Regions from separate parts of the Homo sapiens genome. Here region 2 is linked to region 1. The links are contacts of gene promoters, found by promoter capture Hi-C in human tissues and cell types (Jung and others, 2019). All regions are on one chromosome and are shown on one strand. The core of a region is centred on a gene start or on the middle of the fragment in contact, and the rest is flanking DNA. Distances in the headings are between cores, read along the strand shown. Region 1 holds the start of SLC25A48 (solute carrier family 25 member 48). Region 2 has its middle 57 kb from the start of MIR5692C1.

Region 1 (4,763 bases), core at 581-3,080:
AGGGAGAAAGAAAATGGGGTTGCTTTCTGGCCCTAGTCATGCAGGGAGTGGATCTCTGTGGAGTTTCTTTCTCTCTGTAATGGCCAGTAGCTGCCCTGCCCTCTCCCGAGTGTAGAATGCAAATGTGAATGGCAGCACACTGCAAATGGTGCTCTGAAGTGCGAAGGCCAGGAAGAAGGGATGGCCTGGATCCTGGCCACAGAGCCAGCATTCTGCCTGGGCTCATAGCCCTGTGGTCTGGGATTCTCCAGGCCTGGCCATGGTTGCTGGTAAACCTAGGGTCCTCCCCTCACTTCCCTGGGTGATGCGCCCCATGGGCAGGTTTGTGGCATGCATATGGGAATGGAGCACAGTAATTCATTTTGGAAAGCAACCCACTCCTGCTCTGCTCCAGCTCGTTAGTAGTTCAAGCAGCAGCTTTCTGGGCCTGGGAGGCCATCCTGGGCTGCCAGGGACACTGCCTGCCAACGTAAGACCTCCTCAATTGGTGCTGACACAGGACTGAGGGGATGACAAACTGCCTGGCACCCCTTAGGTGGTCTTCCAGAGGAGTGGGTTTTGAGAATTGTCAGGCTTTCCACTTGTGGATGCATTCCAATGGTGAACTCAGTAAAAGGCCACTCTTCAGAGACCTGCATTTCTCATAGCAGCCCTAGGCATATATCCCGGGCATGACAGGGCACAGCTTGGGGTTGATGCTGATGGCAACTCTGAAGCCTCAAGACTGAGTGGGTCACCATAAGCAGCAGGAAGTTGAGGTGCCGGGATGGGGTGTGATGCTTCCACTCCTCCCTGGAACTTTGCAATACTTCCCTAGCCAGGCCGGCGACTCCATCCCGGGCTGTCCTCTCCCGATACAGGTCCACTCTCTGTGTGCCGGGGCAGGGGAGGGAGTGATGCTGCAGGAAGGTCCCTTCACCTCCAAGTCCCCACTCCTCAGTGGACAGGCCTTTGTAGGATCAAGCTTCGGTGGTCAGGCTCTGTCTTGCTTTGGAAGAAGGAGGTCTGGCTGGCTGTCGCTTCATATTAACCTGGATGACGTGACATGAATATGCCCAGTGGGACAAGAGCAGGCCCAGCAGAGGCCCCTTCCTCCTGACCATACCCTTCACCATTCTTGTCAACCTTGGGGTGTCTTGGCTGAGACCCACAGCTGAGTCCCTGCTGGAAACTAGCAGAACGCTGGGGGGCTTCGAGTCTTCTTAGGAAGGGAGGAAAGACACTCTCATTGTAATCAAAAGCCTCTCCGCACAGCAGGCCACTTCTCCAGTGAGCACGGACCCCTGGCCTGGGGCCTGGCTGAATGTAGGGTCTGCCTACAGAGAGGGAGTTTGAGGTACAGAGCACCACCTCTGCCTTCTGTTGGCCCAGGGCGGACAGTGTAGGGTGAGCCAGGGCCAGGCAGGGAGCTGGGCCCCTAGAGAGCTGTAGCTGAAAGTTAGACATGACCCTGAACCACCAGGTGCCTGCTCTAGGCACGGGGTACTGAGTGGGACATGGCTGAGATGAACAAAAAGGCATCACTGCCCAGAGTTGGGATGGGAGAGAGTCCACAGCTGATTGGAATCAGCATTGTCAGCACAGCACAGTACAGGGAGATACGCGCATTGCCGTCTCTGGATGGGCGGCTGGCACTTTCAGTTCAAAGGCGCTGAGGCTCTGAAGTTGGCAAGGAAGAGGATAACCCGGAGAAGGGAGGACTAAGAGAATTTCACTTGATGACCCTTGCCTCTTTGTGTCTGGGATGAGCCGCGCGGAGCGCACCCTTATCCACCCAGAGTGCTGTGCCTTTAAGGTCCACTGGGGGCGTGATGTCAGCCGCCCTCCGGCACTTGGAGAGGTGAGCGCGGCAGCCCGCGCAGCCGGTGACTGGGGGACTGGGTTTGGAGTAGGACCTGCGGCGTGCTCGAGACTCCGACTTCGGTCTTGCGGCGCGCTCGCGCCCGCGGGCCATGCCCCACTGACTCTAAGTGGGCACTGCCCCGGCTCCGGGAGGGCGAGACCGAGCGCCGGCCATGGGAAGCTTCCAGCTGGAAGACTTTGCGGCGGGCTGGATCGGAGGTGAGTGTGCTTACCGGGGACCCCCGGTCAGAGAGAGCGAGCCTGGCGGAGTTTGCCTCTATGCTCTGAGGAAACTTTGCCTCTGTGCGCTGCCATCCCGCTCCCCGTTGTGCGCGCAGCCTGCTTTGGGGAGTGCCCGGCCCCGAGATCCCCCTGGTGGTCTTGCAGTTGCCAGGGCTAAATTCTGAGAGCTTCACAGCGTTTCGGGCTGAGCTTCTGATTTGCTCATTAAGTTAGGATCCGTGGGACTTGATGAGGTAATGATTAAACAGCTCGTCAAAGCCCACAGCCAATGGAGGCTCCTGGCGGCGCACACACCCTTCAGTGACCTGGTGCACACCTGAATTGCGGACGTGGCTCGCGGGAACTTATGTATGAGGGTAGCGCTTGGCTGCTGATCCCGGGGCGCAGGGTGGTGGGAGCCAGGCTTCGAGATTAGGCCGGCCCAACGGGGCGTCCCGACTGGAGGGAGCAGAGCTCTCACAGCAGGGAGCGGAGCGCCGGCTGCAGGTGCCCATTGCCAGGCTGCGAGGAGCACTTATTGCCTTCAGCCGCCGCCAACCGTCAGCCATCGCCTACCTCCAAGGCCCCTTCTCCGGGCACTGTTGGGTCTGCTGATCCCTTCGCCACAGCTCCCGAAGCCACTCTTTTACTGGGCCTGGGATGGGTTGCCTGGGCGAGAGTTGCATTCATTTCCTTGCTTCTCCATTTTTCTTTCCAATTGGTCTATCCCTCTTTTCTCAGCTATTAGGAAAGGGGGAAGTTTGAGGGACTTTGCTAATTGTAAAAAAAAAAAAAAAAAAAAAAAAAAGTCTTTCTTTGGACCCATCTAAAAGGGTTATCCTAAAAGGGATGTTGGCAAATGTAGCCCCTCACCAAAGGGGTGAAAAAATAAGATGAAAAGAACAACAAACCAGATTGGATCCCAACTCCTCCCCTCCTACCTAGCAGGAGACCACCTCTCTCCCGAGACCGGTGGCTGCAGGGCCCTGCTTCACACCTTCCTGAGCAGAGGTGGCTCCTTTCACCTTGAGTAAGTCTGTTGGCACAGATGCCCTTGGGTGGGGCTGAGACCCGCCTCTCCTAACTTTCCCAGTTAGGGGGCTGCAGCCTGAGGCCCGCTGGGCATATCCAGGTCCTTTTTGACTGGACAATTATTCCACCATTCAGCGGGGCAGGCAGAGAGAGGAGACACTTCCGTGGGCTGCCCCTTAAATAAGCAGACCACCTTCGGTAGGGATGCAAATGGCTTGGTTTGAAAAATGCCCTGGAAGGTAGGGCTGAGTCAGAGTAGTTCCAAGACTCTGATACCCCTCCCCATCCCCAAACGTGATAACATGTGAACCCTCCCCGACTCACAGCAAGTAGGGGATTTTTGTGCTTTATTCTGGTCCTTACTTTGGTGATGTTATTGAAAGTAATGGCAAAAATCGCAATTACTTTTGCACCAAACTAATAACATGGCTTTTTTTTTTTTTGGCTTCCATGAAATGATGGTAAGTGTTTACTACACTTGAATACTTACTAGGTGCCAGGTATAGTTTAAGTGCTATATGTATTCTTTTAAAACAATTTTATCAAGGTTTATTTTATGTATTATAAAATTCACCCATTTCAAATGTACAATTCAATGTCTTTTAGTAATTTTACAAAGAGGTGCAACCATCACCATAAATTTGTTTTAGAACATTTTCATCCCCCAGTAAGATCCCTCATTTGAAGTTGAATGCTGTTCCCTCTCCTTAATCTCCTTTCTGTAAATTTGCCTTTCCTGTATATGTTATGTCAATTGAATCTTGCAATATGTGATCTCTTGTGTCAGTTTATGTATAGTTCTTTAATTATTATAACAACCCCAAAGAGGTAGGTACCGTTGCATCCTTATTTTACAGATGAGGAAACTGAGATACAGAGAAATTCACTGACTTGCCTAAGACCATGCATCTAGCATTGGCACCAGGATTCCAACCCAGGCTGCCTGGCACCAGAATCTGCCATCTTAATTTCATCTTAACTCTTTCTGAACAACCTTGCATAACAAAATTTTGCCCTTTTTTTGATATTATCCCCCCCCCCACCCCCCCCCCCCACACACACACACATTTTGTTTGAGATTTTACTGGTTTGTGAAGTGCCAAGGTCTGGAAATCACTGACCTTATAATCCCATTTTTTTAAATCTCAAATCCCCTGCTTTCAGATGGGTGGGCTAATAAGTGGCAGGGAGATGTTGGCCCAAGGCTGGATCTAAGCCTGCCCTGAGCTGAAGGATGTGTGCACTCACTATGGGGGAAGCCATGGAGCCTGAGGACCAGCGCACCTCCCCCCACTACTGGGAAGGGTTAATTACTGCCATCACCTCTCTGCCTCTGCCCAGTTTAGTAGGTAGGAGGGGATAAGAGGGGACAGGTGGTTCTGGACCCAGGGAATCATTGTTCTGGGATTAGCTGGTTTCTTTGTCCCTATAAATATCTAATATTCCAGGAGCCCTTAGCTACCTGGTTAAATCACCTCTACTAACACAGATATTTCCTTCCTCCTCAGTGTTCTCGGGAATTTGTCTTTGAAGAACAGTTTCCCTTTCAATTTCAGTCACTAACTGCTGCAACAAGGCTGATACGGTTTGGCTGTTTCCCCACCCAAATCTCATCTTGAATTGTAGCTCCCATAATTCCACATGTCATGGGAGGGACCCCTGTGGGA
Region 2 (4,874 bases), core at 257-2,756, 90 kb before region 1:
TAATTGTCCTATGATACAGAGGACAGCCCCCCACAACAAAGAATAATCCTGCTCCAAATGTCAACAATGTGGAGGGTGAGAAACCCTGATAGATAGCAGGCACGTACTAAGTATCTGTCAATGAAACTATCTCATTTCAAATCCTTAACACACGAGGTATAATGGAAAATAAAATGTCTCATTACTGCTCAAATTCAAGTGAAAGTTAAGCCTGGAAACCTCCCAACACTGCTGTCCTCCTCCCCATCAACAGACAGCTGTTACTTCCCAACCTTGGATCAAAGCATTCTACATTAACTAGACCCCTGCAAAAGGCCAAAGGCCTCATGCATCTCCATCGTGGGATGACTGCCCTCACAAATTGCTCCTAAGGAGCTTCTTTGATGGCCCCTAAACCTTTGAAGATGAATATCCTCCCATAAACAAGGACATGTTAACTGTAACTTTAGGACTGTAACCTCAGTCTAACTCCTTGTCTGCTACTGATGTCTGTTAAATGTCACATTGATGATGTCCATCCATTACAAGCTTATCTTCTCACATGCCAAACAAAGACAGGATAAGATTAATCCTTCCTCTCCTACCCTGAGACATCTAATTAATTCTTCTTTTACTCCCTCTTTTGAATGTTTACCTTATCTTCTGTATAGCATAGATATACTGGGCTCTAATTTAAACCTCACAGGAATTTAACTAACTGCCTCAAGGCCTACTGCACTTTTTCCTGCATGCTTTTTCCCCTTTTAAAGAAATATATAAACACGAGCCTCCTGGAACCTCTCCAGGGAGCACAGGCCACAGACATTTCTGTGTTTTCCAGAGCATGCCCTCAAGCTCTGGCTCAATAAACCTCCACTGGTAGAGATGGTTCAGTCTCTCCATTGGATTGACAAGGTAACTATTTTTCTCTCCATTTTTTTTTTCTTTTGAGACAGGGTCTCACTCTGTCACCCAGGCTGGGGGGCAGTGGCATGATCTCAGCTCACTGCAACCTCCACCTCCCCAGTTCAAGTGATCCTCCCACCTCAGCCTCAAGAGTAGGCACGCATCACCATGCCAGCTAATTTTTGTGTTTTTAGTAGAGACAGGTTTCACCATGTTGGCCAGGCTGGTCTTGAACTCCTGACCTCAAGTGATCCACCTGCCTCGGCCTCCTAAAGTGCTGGGATTACAGGCGTGAGCCACCGCACTTGGCCTGTCTCCATTTTTGATGAGGAACCAGAAGCTCAGAGAGGTTATGACTATTGCTGATGGTCACACCACATGGACCCAAGAATCAAACCCAACTCTCTCTTTGAACTCCTTCAAGATTCTCCCCCTTGGCTGGGTGTGGTGGCTAACACCTGTAATCCCAGCTTTGGGAGGCTGAGGCAGGCAGATCACCTGAGGTCTGGAGTTCAAGACCAGCCTGGCCAGCATAATGAAACCCTGTCTCTACTAAAACTACAAAAATTAGCCAGGAGAGGTGGCGGGCATCTGTAGTCCCTGCTACTGGGGAAGCTGAGGCATGAGAATCACTTGAAACCAGGAGGCGGAGGTTGCAGTGAGCTGAGATCATACCACTGCACTCCAGCCTGGGCTACACAGTGCCGAGACCAGCTCGGTTGTGGAGACCCTAACCCAGCAGTGCTAGAGGAATTAAGACAAAGACACAGAAATAGAGTGCAGAGTGGGAATCAGGGGGCTGACAGCCTTCAGACCTGAGAGCCCCGAACAGAGTTTGACCCACATACTTATTGACAGCAAGCCAGTGATAAGCATTATTTCTATAGATCATAGATTAGCTGAAAGCATTCCTTATGGGAAACAAAGGGACAGGCTCTGGCTTGTTATCTGCAGCAGGAACATGTCCTTAAGGCACAGATCGCTCATGCTATTGTTTGTGGTTTAGGAACACCTTGAGCGGTTTTCCACCCAGGGTGGGCCACGTGTTCCTTGCCCTCATTCTGGTAAACCAACAACCTCCAGCGTGGGTGTCATAGCCATCACAAGCATGTCACAGTGCTGCAGAGATTTTGTTTATGGCCAGTTTCTCATGGCCTGTTTATGGCCAGATGTGGGGGGCCTGTTCCCAGCAACACAGCAAGATTCCCTCTGGAAAAAAGGCCAGCGGGGGTGGTGGGAAGAAAAAAAAAGATTCTCCCCCTGCCTCCTGCTTTTTAAGGTCCTTCTGAGCAGGCTCCTAAGGTCCTCCCATCCTTGAATCTGTGCTTCACAGCACTTAAAGCTGTGGTGGTTTAGTTGCTAGCTCACGTGTTTATATTTCCCCTGTTAAGCTAAACTCCACTAGGGCAGTGACCATGCCTGATCCCCAGCTGTGTCCCCAGCACAGCACAGTACCTACGAGGCGGTCAACACACTTCTGTTGAATGAACGGAAGAATCACTCCTCAAAAGGAAGAAAATTATGTCAAGAAAATAGCTGGCAGAGCCAGGATTTAAGTCTGAGGACTCCCTGACTTTGAAGCTTATCCCATTTTCTCTGTGGTCAGTTATTGTCACTCAAACTTCTGTCCCGGATCCTCTTAATTAATGTCCCTTCTGATGCTGCACAGGTTAGTCTTGGCCTCCATCCGTGCCACATCCTTTGCTCTCGCCTTCTACAGTCCTCCTCCCTGTCACTCATTTCAAGCTCCGCCCTCACGCTGCCTACTTTTCATGCTCAGCGCCCTCTAGGCCCCACTCCTCTCCGTATACAATACCTTCTAGCCCGTACCCATCACTCATTCTGCAGATCCCGCTCCCTCCCTCCCATGTGCAGCCTTTTCCAGGCCTGCGCCTCTCACTTCCTGTTGAGGCCTTGCCTTTTTCTTACCCGGGTCTGGGGTAGCCCCCACTCCAGAAGTGCACAGCCGCTGGTTGGGGCATCCCTGACATGAAGCACCTTGGCCTCCCTGGGCACTGAGGGCCCCTGGAAAGTCTGCACAGAGACAAGACCACAGTTACAGCAGCTCGCTACAGTTTTGCCCTGCCACCCACGCCTCCTCCAGGAACTCACGTGAGGCACCTTCTCCATTCTGTCGCCTTTGCTGCCTTTGTGGTCACCGGAACTGCTGTCGTGCATTTCCGCCTTGCAGGTACAATCCGATTCTCCGGTGCAAAATAAGTCTCCAAAAGAGAGGGCTGTGGGCACGCGTGAACCTTGGGCGGAGCGACTGGGACTCACTTCTGTTCCTTTTCAGGGATTTCCTATCATACATACTTCGGCAGTGCATCTCCTAAGAACACAGGCATTCTTCATGACCTCAGTGTCATTTTCATACCCAAGAGATTTAATATCGATGCAGTACTATTAGTCAATAGACAGTTTATATTCCAATTTTAATTGTTCCAAATAAGACCCCTCCCACCCTAGATTCACTCATTGCCTGGAGTTACGTCTCTTTGGTCTCCTTTAATTCAGATCAGTCCTTCCTTTTTTTAGGGGGAGTCTCATCACATTGATAATTTTGACAGCTCCAGACCCGTTGTCTTATAGAATATCCCATAATCTTGATTTGTCTGATCCTCTCCTCACTCTTGCCCCGTCATTAGATTCAGGTTAAGTATTTTTTGTTGTTGTTTTTTTTTCCTGCAGAACACACTTGGATAATGTCAATTTGTCCCGTTTTTGGTAATGTGAAGCTTGATGGCTTGGTAAAGGTGGTGTCTGCCCCATTTTTCCAGTGAATGGTACCCTCTGCCATTTGTAATTAACAAGTATTCTCTGGGGTGATGCACTGAAAGACCATGTGACCATCTTCTTCCCTATCAGCCTTTCACTGAGTGATTTTAGCAGCATTGATGTAATATATATAACTATAGATACAGTTTCATATATGATATCTATATATATATCTATATATCAGTTATATACCCTCTCTTTTTTTTCTTTCCTTTTTTTTTTGGAGTCTCACTATGGATTCCTGGATTTTTTTTTAATTTGTCTTTTATAATAAATTATTATTATGCTTTCTGGTCAATTTTTCCCCCCAAGTGTGGTCAGTGAAGCCGCTTCAAGACAGTTCTTATGTTCTTTGGGCACTAATACAACTTCTTTGAGCATTTTCTTGCTTTCTGATACAATAAGATATTTCAGTCATCCCTTCTCACTGCTGCAGTCATTTCTTCGGGGAGCCTTGGTTACTTTTAGCAGACAACAGTTCAGAAACCAAGATCTGGATGCCACAACTACTCATTGCTACTGGAATGTCATTGATCACAGGTTTGGCACCTGGAATATTAATGAGTGAACAAACTTTACCTGGCCCCAGACACTAAGAATATAGAAACATTTATTAAACTGCAATGTATCAGTTGCCTGTCAGTACTACTAATTATAGCCAGCATTTTGTAGAATACTTACTATTTGCCATCTACCATCTTTGTGCTTTCGTGTGAATTACCTAATTTATGTCCTTTTATAGTCCTACTGTCTCCATTTTGGATGAGGAAACTGAGGCTTAAAGTAGTTAAACTACTTTCCTAAGGTCACACGACTGGTGGCAGGGGAACCATGGTGATAAAACTGGTCTGTCCGGCTGCAGAGCCTGCACTTAGTAACACATGGTCCCAGCCAGCACTGAGTTAGATTCCAGACTGACCTGCCCCCTGCCATCTGGAGCCCAATCTGGTCAGGAGAAGAAGAACAGAGTGATGGGCCATCAGCAAAGGCCTGGAGAGCAGAGAGGAAGTCACCTATCAGGTAGGGACTATTGTCATTTCCATCTTACAGGTGATAAGATGGCTGCCAAGATTTACTTGCCCACAATCTGAGAGGCAGTAAAGAGCAGAACTGGGTTTTTAACAAGGTCTGATACAGGGCCTTGGCTCTTAATCACTATACTATACATTGGAGGGCAGGATGCAAGTTATTCTTTTTATTTTTATTCTCTT

Evidence for each region. The method cuts DNA at HindIII sites, captures the fragments that hold promoters and counts their contacts. A contact is called where the count stands out against the background at its distance.
Region 2: a contact is called between a fragment that was not itself captured here and the fragment with the promoter of SLC25A48 in region 1, in 2 of the 25 tissues and cell types used here (mesendoderm cells and spleen).

What each region holds. Positions count from the first base shown.
Region 1 is chr5:135,832,833-135,837,595 of GRCh38, forward strand. SLC25A48 (solute carrier family 25 member 48) reads left to right here and starts at 1,831. Exons shown (of 8, transcript NM_001349336.2): 1 at 1,831-2,061. The coding sequence starts at 2,016. RefSeq lists an enhancer at 796-1,297. The HindIII fragment of the contact is 4,672 bases long and covers 1-3,778 here.
Region 2 is chr5:135,743,441-135,748,314 of GRCh38, forward strand. It overlaps a transcript of SLC25A48 not described here. Among named protein-coding and RNA genes, the nearest start is that of MIR5692C1, 57 kb to the right of the region's middle. The HindIII fragment of the contact is 3,075 bases long and covers 1-3,044 here.